2 separate regions of the Homo sapiens genome follow, and region 2 is linked to region 1. The links are contacts of gene promoters, found by promoter capture Hi-C in human tissues and cell types (Jung and others, 2019). All regions are on one chromosome and are shown on one strand. Each heading gives the region's core, a stretch centred on a gene start or on the middle of the fragment in contact. The rest is flanking DNA. Distances are from core to core; before and after follow the strand shown.

What was found. Contacts are between HindIII fragments. The study calls those that stand out against the background at their distance.
Region 2: a contact is called between a fragment that was not itself captured here and the fragment with the promoter of SETD2 in region 1, in 2 of the 25 tissues and cell types used here (aorta and psoas muscle).

The regions. Positions count from the first base shown.
Region 1 is chr3:47,159,387-47,167,193 of GRCh38, reverse strand. SETD2 (SET domain containing 2, histone lysine methyltransferase) reads left to right here and starts at 3,081. Exons shown (of 21, transcript NM_014159.7): 1 at 3,081-3,340. The coding sequence starts at 3,270. It overlaps KIF9-AS1 (KIF9 antisense RNA 1), which reads right to left and starts at 2,824. Exons shown (of 7, transcript NR_033373.1): 1 at 2,597-2,824. RefSeq lists silencers at 2,579-2,628, 2,679-3,428, 3,479-3,788. The HindIII fragment of the contact is 7,701 bases long and covers 1-7,055 here.
Region 2 is chr3:47,108,318-47,116,124 of GRCh38, reverse strand. SETD2 (SET domain containing 2, histone lysine methyltransferase) reads left to right here. Exons shown (of 21, transcript NM_014159.7): 5 at 2,121-2,249. Among named protein-coding and RNA genes, the nearest start is that of SETD2, 52 kb to the left of the region's middle. RefSeq lists enhancers at 1,399-1,907, 1,908-2,415. The HindIII fragment of the contact is 3,414 bases long and covers 965-4,378 here.

The sequences.
Region 1 (7,807 bases), core at 1,832-4,331:
TATATATTTTTTTGAGATGAGTTTCGCTCTTGTTGCCCAGGCTGGTGTGGAATGGCATGATCTCGGCTCACTGCAACCTCCGCCTCCCAGGTTCAAGTGATTCTCCTGCCTCAGCCTCCCTAGTAGCTGGTATTAGACATGTGCCACCACGCCGGGCTAATTTTTGTATTTTTAGTAGAGACCGGGTTTCTCCATGTTGGTTAGGCTGGTCTTGAACTCCCAGCCTCAGGTGACCCACCTGCCTCAGCCTCCCAAAGTGATGGGATTACAGGCATGATCCCATCACACCCAGCTGAAATTATAAAGGCTTTTACGATTTTAGCACTCTGGGAGTGAATGCCTCAAATATTTCATGCTAGGGCTTTTTAGACATTTTTCCTTTAAACATGTGCAGAAAGTAGGGGATGGTCAGTATTTAATAACATGAAAAACCAAATTATTCCACAGCTTTGATCAGGAGGCCAGGCCCAAGTACGTGCTCCAAGCATGCATTCTCTTTGACTTAAAAATATGAGTCCAAAGAACTCTGAGTGCAGTTATAGATGAAGGCACTGCCTGTAAAAACCCAGTTCATTTGTTTCTGTTTGGGGCTTAGAATTCTCACTGATTCCCATGGCTTGACAAGCTTATTGCACTGGGTTCTGACCAAACCAATGCTATCATGAGACCAGGCATTCCAGTGCCCAGCTGTACCTCCTGCAAGAGAATTGCTTACTTTCTTATTAAGGAAATAGGAAACCTGCACCTGACTGCTTTTTTCTCATTCACCTCAGCTTAGGTCCTTACCACCTCACATTGTTTCAACCACCTCCACCTAAAATTGTCCTTTCCTGCCTGTCCAAGGTCAAGTGACTCCCAATTGCCTATGTGGCATCTAAGGCACAGGGCCTCAATCTATTCTTTCAAAGCCCAAAAGATAACACTTACTGGGCACTTACTCAATGAAAGGCACTGTGCAAGCATGTTCACAACATTCTCTGCACAGTGGCTAATACCCCATTTACAGGTGAGGCACGGGAAGCATAAGAAGCAAGCATCCCAATGTCACAGGGCTAGAAAGTGCCTGGTACACAATGCCAGGTAGAGCTACCTCTTAAACTCTGCACTATCATGGCTGAAGAATGCTGACGTTTACTGAAAGTTTAAGCCTTTAACAAATAGCTCATTTAATCCTCACAATAATGAGAAGACCTGTCGGCAGCAATATTCTCATTTTATAATGAGAAAAACCACAGGGAAATTAGTAATAATCACGGTGTGTAAAAAAATGGCCTTGGGAGATTCGAACCTAGGGAGTCAGATGGACCCTGGACCTCCATGCTAACCCTAAAGGTACCAGGAAAAAAAAAAACAAAAGCCAAAATAATCCCTAAGTGAAAAACAATGATTATAAAACACTAATAGACACTGTAGCCTACATACATATAAAGGCTATTTTAAAAAGTTAACCACTGAAGGATGTTTATTCTTTCGTATCATATTTCAGTTTTTTTTTGTTGTTGTTGTTTTATTTTTTTGAGACGGAGTCTCGCTATATCGCCCAGGCTGGAGTGCAATGGTGCGATCTGGGCTCACTACAACCTCCGCCTCCTGGGTTCAAGCGATTCTCCTGCCTCAGCCTCCCGAGTAGCTGGGATTACAGGCGCACCACCACGCCCAGCTAATTTATTTTTTATTTTCATTCATTTATTTATTTTTTTGAGATGGAGTCTTGCTCTGTCGCCAGGCTGGAGTGCAGTGGCACAATCTGGGCTTACTGCAACCTCCGCCTCCTGGGTTCAAGCGATTCTCCTGCTTCAGCCTCCCGCGTACCTGGAATTACAGCCGTGCGCCACCACGCCCGGCTAAATTTTGTATTTTTAGTAGAGATGGGGTTTCGCCATGTTGGCCAGTGTGGTCTGGAACTCTTGACCTCAGTTACTCCGCCCGCCTCGGCCTCCTAAAGTGCTGGGATTACAGGCGTGAACCACCGCGCCCGGCCCACTTTCAGTTTTTAACCACTGTTTCTCAATTGGAAGACACATCCTTTCCTTTCCGTTACCAATTGCTGGTAAAATCCGATTCAAAATTCTAGTGGAAAAACAACAGCAACAACAACACAAAAAACGCTAACCCTATGAACCCCCAATGTCAAAATGATCTATCGCCAAAAACTCTTCAGCGTCTAGAAAGTTTAGCTATTGGATTTACGCGTTCCTATCTCTCCTTCCAAAAATAACAACTCGTAGCTCTTTCAAGTTATTCTACTTAGTCTCATCTTATCATTTCTGTAGGAAAGTGATTAATACCCTTTTTTTCATGACATTGCCTCTAAGGCCCCAAGAACCACACAGGAGAGGGGAGCTGCCGCCTTGGAGACTTCGGGTGGGGGCAGAGCGCCGCGCCGAGGTGGAGGTAGGAGCCCCGAGGGCACAGCGGGAAGGAAGGCGGAGGAGGCTGCCGGGAGCTCGGCCTCCGAGCAATCCCCCGCCTCGCTGGGCTTCCATGCTTGCTAAAGGGTCGAGATGAACGGGCAAGGGAGAGAGAGGGCGAGGAAAAATAAAAAAGAGAGGGGCGAGTGGGACGAGGGGCCCGGGAGCAGCCGCGGCCGCGTTACCTCAGAGCCCAGAGGCCTGGGGGAGGGGCCCTCGGCGCTGCCGCGGACTCCGGGGCTCCCGGCGGGCAGGTCCTGCAGGGCCGCGGAGCGAGAAGGCTGATGTCTCGGGTGTCTCGGGGAGTTCTCCCGACGTCGCCTGCTGTTTGTCAGTCGCCAGCTGTGACACGGTAGCGGGCCGGGTCACGCTGCCCCCGGCCGCCAGGCGGGTTGCGGGAGGGGTCGCGGTGCCGCCTCTCCAGGTCCGGTCTGGCCCACATCACTGGGGCCGGGGGTTTATTGTTCCGGAGAGCCACAGGCACGGTCGGCCTGGACCCGCCGGGCAGTGTTCCGCTCTGCCCGTCCCGGCCTGGGGTCAAGCCAACAGCTGCAAGGCACGCCGACTGGCGGCAGATCGGTGGCCCGTGTGTGTCTCTTTAAGGGGCCGGGCCTGCGAAGCTGAGGGGCGGGTGGGGTGTGCGTCGCTCCCGGTGTGAGGGTGAGAGGGAGAGAGCGGCTGGCGGGCGTCCGAGGGAGGGAGGGAGCGACGAGCGAGGTAGCGACGCGGGCCGCCCCTGCCGCCGCCGCCGCCGCCGCCGCCGCCGCCGCGGTCGGACCTGCGGCCTCCTCCCCTCCCCTCCCCCGCGTCGCCCTGCTGCGGGGAGGGGGCTCGCGTCGCCGTCTCCAGCCGCTCCCGATGAAGCAGCTGCAGCCGCAGCCGCCTCCGAAGATGGGGGATTTCTACGACCCGGAGCACCCGACCCCTGAGTAAGTATCAGCTCCGCGGCCCCCCGCTGCTGTCGGCCGCCTTATCCCCAGCCGAGGGCGGCGCGTCCTGACGGGTGGCGGCGCGGGCCGGCGCGAGGAGTAACAGGCCCACGGTGGCCTCGCGCGGTCGGTGTCGGGAGCAGGCCCGCGCCGCCACTTCGAGCCGCTTGGCCGGGGCCGCAGCAGGCCCGCGGTTGGGCCCGGCGTTGGCGCCGCTGCTCGTGTCGCGGCGGCGGTTGGGCCGGGCCGGTGGGGGAGGGGCGGCCACGGTCCCTACGGTTACCGCCGTGTCCGCACCGACCCGGCCATCCCGGGGCTCGGCGGTCCTCTCGGGCTCCTCGTGGCTCGTCCGGGCCCCGCTGCTAGCCAAAGGGCAGAGTCGGAGGAGCTGCCGGTGCCGGGCCCGGCAAGAGGGCGCCGGTGAGGGTAGGCCGCGAATCCCCGGGCTCGGGTGGAAGCTCGACCCGTCGCCCGACCTCCCCGCGACGGCGGCGCCTCGGACCGGAAGGGCCTAGCGCGGGTTGCCTGGCCCCCGGGCCGTGGAGGGGCCCGCGCTGCACTCCTGAGTTTGATTTTTTCCTCCTGGGAACTCGATCCTGGCCTTGCAGTGCTTCCGGATTCACATTGTGCACCTTTGGCACTTGGGTTTTGTAATGGCGAGGTTTGTGTGGTCCCGTTGTTGAGGTGACACCGGGTTTGTTTTTCCGCTTGAAAATGAAAGCCTCCTGAGGGACATACATTTTCTTGCAGGTTGTGAGATTTTCACACTTTCGGACACAATTTTCTTGGTAACAGGAATCTCTTACCCTAAACGGATGACTTTCTATTTCTTGTGAAGACTTGGTTAAAAACCAAGAATCGTTTGAGGATTCTCTAAAGAAGACAATGTTGTGGAAAACCGACACACAGTTTTGCCCAATAGTAATTTTTCAGTCTAGGACACCTTTACATTTCTCTTGAGGTCTGAATCTGCTGCTGTATCTGCTATCTCAGAAAGCCTGGAGTCACTTCTTTCCCTGAACCCTCACGAGACCATTGTTTTGAAAAGCCGTTCTTAAACACCGTTTGCTGGTGTTAGACCTAGGAATATACTATTGATTTAAAACTTATCGGTTGATAGGGGTTTCACATGAAACTGTCAAACTTTTATGACCAGGATGATTCCAAGAGCTTTGCTGTTTTGACACATTTTACCTTAGGTTTGCTCTGGCTCGTTTTTGAATCCCTTGCCACATCTTCTCACATTGGTCCAGAAATGTCTGGATCTTAATTGATAGTTTTGATTGCAACACAAACGGATTCTGTTGAGGTGTTGGTCATTTCTGCACAACAAGATAAATCATTATTTTGCTTTTCTAAAAACCCAACTCTTACTTGCAATAGTAAGTTAACATGGCTTTTTCCTTTCATGGGTTCTTGGCCATTGGTTAACATTACCTTAATTAGATTGGTCTTTTTGTTTTGCTACTGGCAGGGTCAGTTAGGTAAGATTGTTTTGATTTACTGCACCATCAGTCCAATTACAAAGCTCATGTTATAGGTTTTTAGTTTGAAAAACCTCAAAAAAAATTTTATATCACGATTCAATAAATGCTTATATAGCACTTGCTCTGTACAAAGTAACATGCTAACCCCTGAATAGGCTAAGTGCCTGCTTTCACTTCCTTTTACCAGGTTGTTTGGTGAAGTCCGGAAGCTTTAAGGATCACATCCTTACACTTCTTGGGGAAAAACAATTTTTCATAATATGTGGGAAAATGGACTCAGAAGTGCATCTTTGGTAGACCTGAGTGGGGAAGGAATCAAGAATGTTTTATGGTTTTACATGTTTTGGAGTTTTTATTTTTATTGCTTTAATGTAGTAGAAATCCACTGCTTTGGATTTCTAACAGTGATTATATATTTTTAAATTCTCGTGTATTTTTTCCTTTTTTTTTTTTTTAGAGGCAGGGTCCCACTCTGTCACCCAGGCTGGAGTGCAGTGGTGTCATCATGGCTCATTGCATCCTTGAACCTCTGGGCTTAAGCAGTCCTCCTGCCTCAGCCTCCTGGGTTGGGACTATAGGCATGTGTCACCACACCCAGCTAATTAAAAAAAAATAAATTACGTTACTGGTTTTGAATCCCTGGCCTCAAGTGAGCCTCCTGCCTTGGCCTCCCAAAGTGCTGGGATTGCAGGCATGAGCCATTGTGCCAGGCCTCTTCTTGTGTATTAACCTGTATGGAGTAAAGAATTGTAACATGTTTTTTGTTGTTGTTGTTTTGTTTTTCCTTTTTTTCATAATACTATAAAGACTGGAGGGGATCATGGTAGGTATCCTGAGCAATATCACCTGTTTGGCATATGAAGAAAATGAAGGCTAGAGAAGTGAAGTGACAGCAAACTCTTGAGATAGTAAGCTAGTTAGTGTTTATAATGCTAGAGAGAGGAGAGAGAAAGGCAGTATAGGGTTTAAAAAACCTGGATTTCAGAGTCAGACCTGAATCTGAACACTATTTTAACCTTGGACGATGACTTCATCTCTCTGAACTTGGGTTTTCTCATCTTTTATATAGGTATTATAATGGTTAACAACTTACTGGGGCTTTTTGGGAGGATTGAATGAGATAATGCATGAAGAGCACTTGGCGCAGAATGTGGCACGTGTAAGTGCTTCTAGTTGGGGTCATCAGGGAAAAGTTAAAAGGTAGGATTTAAGTTGAGGATGAAAAGACTAGGTGGGCAACATGGCTCAGGGGAGAAATGACCAAGTGCCCTTTTTAGACTTTGGATGGTTTGAAATGGTACTTAGACATATGAAGAAATTGAGGCAAAAATGTAAATTCAGTTTGACTGAAGTAACACTTAGCGTCTGATGTTCTGGGTTTGTCTTGTACCCATGCTTTTAATCAGACACAGCTGCAAGATGTCTTTTTTATTCAGCAGCATAGAGGACATTGTGTTTCAGGTGAAAATGGCTGTAATCACTTGAGTATCTGTGCAGTGGGTGTCCATTATGGGGCAGGCCCAGGGACAGGTGTTGAGGACACGGCAAAGTAGATCCAGTTAGTCTTTAAGGAACTCTTTTAATGAAGGAGATAGGCAAGTACTTTACAGTGATAGAGGTGCAGGTCTTTGAACATATGCATGTCTGTTGTATGCCAAACATAGGCACACTAAGGGTAATTGGTGTACAAAACAAAATTTTGCCCTTGTGGAGTTTACATCCTAATAGGGGTGATAATAAATGATATAGAATGTTCTGGCCAAGTGGGGTGGCTTTCATCGGTAATCCCAGCACTTTTGGAGGCCGAGGTGGGTGGATCACCTGAGGTCAGTGGTTGGAGACCAGCCTGGCCAAGATGGTGAAACCTCGTCTCTACTAAAAATACAAAAAAAAAAAAAATTAGTCTGGTGTGGTGGCAGGCGCCTGTAATCCCAGCTACTCGGGAGGCTGAGGCAGGAGAATTGCTTGAACCTGGAGGCGGAGGTTGCCGTGAGCTGAGATTGTGCCACTGCACTCCAGCCTGGGGGACAGAAGGAGATTCCATCTCGAAAAAAAAATAATAAAATTAAATAAATAATGTAGAGTGTTCAAAGGTAAGTGCTTTGGAAAGTGGAATAGAGTAAGGGGGATTCAGAATTGTTGAGGAAGAGGTTGCAATTTAAAGTGAGGTATACTGGGTGAGTATCCTTGAGAGAGTGATATTTAGGAAAGATTTAAAGGAGAAGTAGCCATGTTAATAACTGGGGTGAAGGCATTTCAATAAGAGGGAATAGTTTCAAGGTGTTGAGGCAGACCTGTGAGTTTTGCCCATTATGGCTAGAATGGAATGAGCAAGAAGGTGTAATAATAAACTGGGTTAGGGTGAGATGGGGTTTAGCTTTTTTTTTTTTTTGGAATGGAGTCTCACTCTGTCCCCCAGGCTGGAGTGCAGTGGTGTGATCTCGGCTCACTGCAACCTCTGCCCCCTGGCTTTAAGCGATTCTCCTGCTTCAGCCTCCTGAATAGCTGGGATTACAGGCGCCTGCCACTGTGCCTGGCTAATTTTTGTGTTTTTGGTAGAGATGGGGTTTCACCTTCTTGGCCACGCTGGTCTTGAACTCCTGACCTCATGATCCACCTGCCTTGGCCTCCCAAAGTGCTGGGATTACAGGTGTGAGCCACTGCTCTCGGCTGAGGTTTAGCTTTTTTACAGTCTTGTAAAGCCATTCTAAGAACTTTGCCAAGAGTTTTGAACAGAAGAGTGACATAGTCTGCTTTCAGTTTCAAAGGATCATTTGAATTGCAAAGGGAACAACAGTGGAAGCCTGGAGACTAGTAAGGAAGCTAGTAATCCAGAAAAGAGATGCTGCCAGTACCAAGATGGTAATATAAGAGTAGTGAGAAATGGATGGATACTGGATATGTTTTGAAGATGGAACTAATATGACATGTGAGAGAGGAACCAAGGATGATTCCAGGGTTTCTGGTCTCAGCGTTAGAA
Region 2 (7,807 bases), core at 1,422-3,921, 51 kb after region 1:
TGCTTGGATTTGCTAATCAGACCTAATCAGAGCTCTGTGTACAGACCTGCCTAAATCTTTCTCTTGACTGCATTATGTATTCTATTCATAGTTAGCCGGTAATTAGTCTGTTGACAGACATTTGCTTCTGTATTGTTCTTATAAATAGTAAATATCTTTACATTAAAAAATTTAATTTTGGCCAGGCGTAGTGGCTCATGCCTGTAATCCCAGCTATTTGGGAGGCTGAGGCGGGCAGATCACTTGAGGCCAGGAGTTTAGGATCAGCCTGGCCAACATGGTGAAACCCCATCTCTACTAAAAAATACAAAAATTAGCCAGGCATGATGACACACACCTGTAATCCCAGCTACTCTGGAGGCTGAGGCAGGAGAAGCACTTGAACCCAGGAGGTGGAGCTTGCAGTGAGCTGTCATTCCACTATACTCCAGCCTGGGTGACAGAGCGAGATGTTGTCTCAAAAAAATTTTTTTAACCAATCTGATTGATGAAAAATATATTCTTGTCTTTTACATGGAAAGAGTATACCTTATTTTTGATGTTAGTGAAGGTTTTTTTTCCCCAAAGCTCAGTTTTTGGTTTTGCTCATGTTATAGTGTTGCAAAAATAAAATATATATACCTTGAAAAAATAAAGAGAAAGGATTTTTGGTATTCTTTTATCCAAACTAGAGAGAGAGATGACAGTACAGATGTAAGAAGAGAAGACATAGAGTTAGCATTATTCTAACTTCATATTGTTGCCCTAGTCATTCTTCTGGGTTTTCCTGCCAACCTTGTGAAGCATACATGAAGAAAAATATTTCTTCATATTATTCACACACTTAAGCTTTTGGTAGTTCTCGGTTGTTCTCATGATTAGGTTCAAACTTAGCCTTGTATTCAGAGCCCTTGGTAGCATATCATCAGCCTGTCTTTTCATCCTCCAGCAACTCACCTTTCTTATCAGTTATCTTTAGTTGTTTCATTTCTCTTTGTCCAAACAGGGATTGTTTTCCTATTTCTGCACACAGACAGGGACAGTTGTATCTCCAGCTTTCTTTATGCATATCCTATGTATCATTAGAGATTCTGCCTTAAATTCTCTTCCCTCCTGAAAGCTTTCCTTTATACTGCCTCACTCTAGAGCAAATCCTTCATCCTTTGACCATTGCTAAAAATGTTATTTGCTGCTGGGTGGGCAATAAATAATAATATATTCAAAATGATTGGTAATTTCCAGTGGTCTTTTTTTTTTTTTTTTTTTTTTGAGACAGTCTCCCTCTGTCGCCCAGGCTAGAGTGCAGTGGCACAATCTTGACTCACTACAACCTCTGCCTCCTGGGTTCAAACAATTCTCCTGCCTCAGCCTCCCAAGTAGCTGGGATTACAGGCGTGCACCATCATGCCCGGCTAATTTTTGTATTTTTCAGAGAGACAGGATTTCACTATGTTGGCGAGGGTGGTCTTGAATTCCTGACCTCAAGTGATCCACCTGCCTTGGCCTCCCAAAGTGCTGGGATTACAGGCATGAATCACCGTACTCAGCCCCCTCTGGTGTAGTTTTAATCATCGTTAAAACCTTTATATCTATCACATATTAAGAAGTCAATCAGTGTTCGATTTTATCATTTTTACTCTAGGATCCATGGGAGAAGAGCCATGCCATGTTATTCTGTTTACTCTGAACAAGGATATATTTAATAATGACTTTAGATTTTCTCAATTGTAGATCAAGTAGTTAGCTGCATTCAAAAAATGAAATTAAAAGTGATTAGAGTAGAAGGAAGGGAAGGTGCACTTACAGAATATAAGTTCTGCAGAGTTGTCAATGTACTGAAAGCTTACATGCAGCCTGAAAATGTATTCTAGACACCTAGGGAGTGGTAGATATTTCTGTGATGACCAGATATCAAGGCTGTATTGTGGGTATGATCTGTTTAAGTAACAATGTAGATACTCAGTTCTAAGGAATCCCTTTGTGATGGAAGGAAAGGAAGACTTAGTTGGGGGTTAGTCATACATATGCTAATTATACCATAAAAGTATGTATATATGTAGTTATACTAACACATTTTTTCAAAGTTACTTTGGTTCTTTTGCTGCTTTAAAGAATTAAATTTCCTCCTTTTCTCATTTCAGTTCTTCTCGGTGTCCAAATGGGGATTATTGTTCCAATAGACGGTTTCAGAGAAAACAGCATGCAGATGTGGAAGTCATACTCACAGAAAAGAAAGGCTGGGGCTTGAGAGCTGCCAAAGACCTTCCTTCGTAAGTTCTTTTTTAATTACCTTTCACTTCCTTTTTTGAGACAAGGTCTCACTCTTTCACCCAGACTGGAGTGCAGTGGCACGATCTTGGCTCACTGGAACCTCTACCTCCCGGATTCAAGCAATTCTCCTGCCTTAGCCTCTCAAGTAGCTGGAACTACAGGCTCATGCCACCATGCCCAGCTAATTTTTTTTGTATTTTTTTGGTAGAGACGTTGTTTCACCATGTTGGCCAGGCTGGTTTCGAACTCTGACCGCAAGTTTTCCGCCCACCTTGGCATCCCAAAGTGCTGGGATTACAGGTGTGAGCCGTCGCGCCTGGGCTTCACTTCATTTTTGTGTTGTTGAACTTAGATGTTTTTGTAGGGAAACAATTTCTTTATTACACTGAGGTTTAATGATGATTATTATGTAGAATGACCACTTGGTAGCTAGTTTGTTGTTAAAAAATCTTTTTTTCTTTTTTGGTAATTATGTTTTCTTTAATTCCAAGCAACTACCAAGTGTTTACTGTGGACCCCCAGAATCTCTATGAAGCTATATAAAAAGAAGTTGGGACAGAATCCATTAGTATACATAAAATTGAGTTGGGATAAGAGTAGAAGAGAAGGCCAGGTGCAGTGGCTCATGCTTGTAATCTCAGCGCTATGGGAAGCTAAGTGGGAGGACTGCTTGAGCCTGGGAGTTCAAGGTTACAGTGAGCTGTGATCACGCCACTGCATTCTAGCCTGGATGGCAGTGATCTCTTGTCTCTTAAAGAAAAAAAAAAAGAGTAGAAGAGAATACCTGAGCATATCAAGGTTAAGAATTAAAACATACTTGATAGATAATCATTAAACATTTCTTGAATGAATAAATGTTGCTTTCCATGTAACTGATGTAAGTTTTTAATGTAATACAGCAAAAGGTTCACTTTATTTTCTACCATATTCAGTATTTCCTGGAAATGTTTAATTTTCTTATATATAGCATATTTAAAGTATTCTTGGCCGGGCATGGTGACTCATGCTTGTAATCCCAGCACTTTGGGAAGCCAAGGTGAGTGGATCACCTGAAGTCGGGAGTTCGAGACCAGCCTGGCCAACATGGCGAAACCCCGTCTCTACTAAAAATACAAAAATTAGATGGGTGTGGTGGCGCACGCCTATAATCCCAGCTACCTGGGAGGCTGAGGTAGGAGAATCGCTTGAACTTGGGAGGTGGAGGTTGCAGTGAGCCGAGATCATGCCACTGCCCTCTAGCCTGGGAGACAGAGCAAGACTCCATCTCGAAAACAAACAAAAAACCCAAAATTACGCTGGACGTGGTGGTTCACGCCTGTAATCCCAGCACTTTGGGAGGCCGAGGTGGGCAGATCACCTGAGGTCAGGAGTTCAAGACCAGCCTGGCCAATGTGGTGAAACCCTGTCACTACTAAAAATACAAAAATTAGCTGGATGTGGTGGCAGGCACCAATAATCCCAGTTACTTGAGGGGCTGAGGCAGGAGAATCTCTTGAACCGGGGAAGCGAAGGTTGCAGTGAGCCGAGATTGCGCCATTGTACTCCATCCTGGGTGACAAGAGTGAAACTCTGTCTCAAAAAACAAAACAAAAATTAGCCAGGCATGATGGCGCACAGCTGTAATCCCAGCTACTCGGGAGGCTGAGGCAGAAGAATTTGCTTGAACCCACGAGGAGGAGGTTGCAGTGAGCCGAGATCATGGCACTGCATTCCAGCCTGGGGGACAGAGCGAGACTGTCTCCAAAAAAAAAAAAAAAAAGTATTCTTAATGAAGGTCAAGTGCCTCTTTGAAGTTAAATATAAACAGATTACATGTGTTTATGGTTGAAACATTTAAAAAATATATAAAAGAAAAAATGGAAGGAAATAAAACATTTGCTGGATTCTAGTAACTTAGACATAACTATTCTTTCAGAACCCTCTGAGCATATGGCCACAGTTGGATGGGAGTTGGAGTTGGGGCAGGACTTGGTGGGGTTTAATCTGTTTATTGTGGGAATTCAAAACACAGGTAATAAAGACAATAATTTTTTTTTCTCACTGTTTTCCCCTTGGCAATAATTTAGTTTTATGACAGGAATCCTCATATATCTTTTGATAAGCAAATTGTTCTTTTTTTTTTTTTCCTTTGAAGATAAGAAATGATGTTGATATTAATCTATCCTTTTGGGAACCAATCAGAAAGCAACATGTTTTGTTACACAAAAAGGGGGCTAGTAGGAACCTCATAGATTTCTCTTCTCCTCTAAGTTTTGTAAAAACACACCCTGGCTCATAACTGGTTTTTATTGTTTTTTATTTTTTTGAGACAGGGTCTTGCCCTGTCACCCTCGCTGGAGTATCCTGGCGCAATCATAGCTCACTGCAGTGTCGACCTCCCAGGCTCAATTTATCCTCCTGCCTCAGCCTTCTGAGTAGCTGAGACTATAAGTGTGAGCCAGTATGCCCAGCTACTTTATTTTTCTATTTTTTGTAGAGATGGGGTCCTCACTATGTTGCCTAGGCTTCTCATAACTGGTTTTTAATTGTTTATTTGAAGCAAATATCCCACAGAATTGTCATATGCCCCATATCCATTCATTGGATTCTTTATAATATTTTAAACAAATAATTGGTTACACTTCCTTTGAACACTGTTGATACAGAACTCAATACCTCTCAAAGCAGCCCATTGAATTTCCAAAATCACTAGTTCTAGTCCAGACGCACATTTTCAAAGATGCCTTCTTTCATTCTGCCCTAGCCAGCCAGGCCTTCTTGAGATTTTTTTTTTTTTTTTTTTTTTTTTTTTTTTTAAAGGAACCACAGTTTGGACACAAGCCTCTCTTACAGGGACAATAGTGGATGAGCTGTCTGGATGCTGGTCTTTTGTGGTATCTGCAGTAAAACACATAGCTTCAAACCTGATCTAAATTCTGTTACTTGCAACAGACACTCTTTGATAGCTCAGTGCTCTTCTCATATTAAGGGGAAAGGAGACTGGGGAAGGGAGGAAAGGATATATGGCTCCAGTTTATAAGCCAGGTTAAAATTTCCTAAAGCTCTTCCGTTTTCTTCAGCTATTCACAGAGAACCCTGCTTTGGTAAAATATACTAGGACTTAATGTTTCCATGTTTCCCATACCTTCCTACTCCTATAACTGCCACATGATGATGTGTAATACCAATAGTTTATGAATTTCATAAACTAGTCAAAACTCTTGCGTTGTTTACTGGTAGAGTATTACCATTTAATAAGGACAGATTGTCAGAGCTACACAGGATGAGAAATTATTTGGAGCTAAGTTACTAGTTAGTGTTAAAGTGCCATGGCAGACCCCACCAAAAAAGCAGGTTATTACCAAAACCCCTGTAGTTTTAGGAAATCTCCCAGTTGTAGGAAGAGAAGGCAGTCCAGGTTGACTTAATGTAATTGGATACCAGATAGGGTTTTAATTGAGGTAAAATTCACATAATATAATATTGACCATTTTAAAGTTTACAATTCAGTACCATTTAGTGCATTCATAATCTTGTGCAACTGCCACTTTTGTCTGTGTCCAAAACATTTTCATCATCTGAAAAGGGAACTAACTCTGCCTGTTAAGCAGAATCTTCTCATACCTGCCTCCTCCCAGGCCTGGCAGCCACTAATTTGCTGTCTGTTTCTGTGGGTTGATCTATTCTCGGTATTTCGTATAAATGAAATTATACAATATGTGGCCTTTTGTGTCTGGCTTCTTTCACTTAGCATTATGTTTTTGAGGTTTCATCTGTATTGCAGCATGTGTCAGCACTTAATTCCTATTTATGGCTGAATAATACTCTCTTGTATGGGTATACGATATTTTGTATATCCTTTTGTTAGTTGATGGACATTTGGGCAAATGAGGCTTTTTTTTTTTTTTTTGAGATGGAGTCTTGCTCTGTCACTCAGGCTGGAGCACAGTGGCACGATCACGGCTCACTGCAACCTCTGCTTCCCGGGTTCAAGTGATTCTCCTGCCTCAGCCTCCTGAGTAGCTGGGATTACAGGTGTGCGCCACCATGCCCAGCTAATTTTTCTATTTTTAGTAGAGAGGGGGTTTCACCATGTTGGCCCAGCTGGTCTCGAACTCCTGACTACAGGTGATCCGCCTGGCTTGGCTTCCCAAAGTGCTGTAATTACAGGGGTAAGCCACCGTGGCTGGCCGAAATGAGGCTTTTTTAGAAGCCATCTTTCCCCTCCACATTTTTTTGTTGTTTTCCGACACAGGGTCTCACTGTGTTGCCCAGGCTTGAATGCAGTGGCGCGATCACAGCTTACTGCTGCCTCAACCTCCTGGGCTCAGGTGATCCCCCAACCTTAGCCTCCTCAGTAGCTGGGACTACAGGTGTACACTACCATACTCTGCTAATTTTTTTGTATTTTTAGTAGAGACAGGGTTTTGCCGTGTTGCCCAGGTTGGTCTCGAACTCCTAAGCTCCAGTGATCCTCTCACCTTGGCTTTCCAAAGTTCTGGTATTACAGGCGTGAGCCACCACCCCTGGCCCGTTTTATTAATAAAAAGTTTCAAACTTACAGAAAAGTTGAAAGAGTTGAACAGTTAGTGTCCATGTAAGCACCACTTAGGTTTTATAGTTATTAACATTTTGTTCTGTTTGCTTTATTTTACATTCTCTGTCTGCCCGTCTCTTTTTTATCTATCAGTCTTTTTTTGATGAAGCTTAAAGGGAGTTGCAGACGTTACCCTTAACCCCTAAACCTTCCATAGCTTTGCAGTGACAGTGACAATTTCTGTCCCCACCCACCTGCCATAGTAGAGCCCTGTTGCCCTGAACAGGCTTTAAGGAGAAGGAGTTCAATGAAGTGACCCTATTCAGCCAGGAGCAAATTTCAGGCTTAGAAAAAGATTAATAAGAATCATAAGAATCACACTTCTCATTGCCTTTGCCTTCATGGGATTTAGTCACTGCATGCCAGGCAATATGATGTTTTCTGCTTTGTTTTTGTTTTTATTTTGGTTTTTAATTGAGACACGTAGCTTCTCTAAGAAACCTAAATCTTAGAGTTTTAAGGACTGCATGATAGACTTTTACACTGGCCTCATTTAGTTTTTTGGAGGTCAGGCAGCTGGAGGGTCTAGCCACTCTTCCTACATTCCCCAAATTCCTGAGGACTTTGAGATGCTTCTCTCAGCTGCTTCCTCAAGCTCAAACTGTTAGATCCATGTGTGTTGGTATATCCTTCCAACTTCCTGATGTGGGGTCTCTACTCTGAGTGATTTACTGGCTGGTCAGGCTCTGATATTTAAGAACTTTTTCTAAATAAGGTGATTTGAGAGTAATATCATTAGAATTGAATATTTTAGTAAAATTCAAGAAAGCATCTTTATAATATAATGAGGTAAATAGTTATTTAGGTGGAGTTTGAATCCCAGGCTGTAATTGAGCTTTATGAAGTTGGATAGATCACCTACATTATCCAAACTCTGTCTTATTTGTCAAATGGGCATAATATCGATGCCAGATGACATCAATATGCTTTATTTTTATTTTTCATACTACCTTTCAAAAGCAGGTAATCAAGCCTTAAATG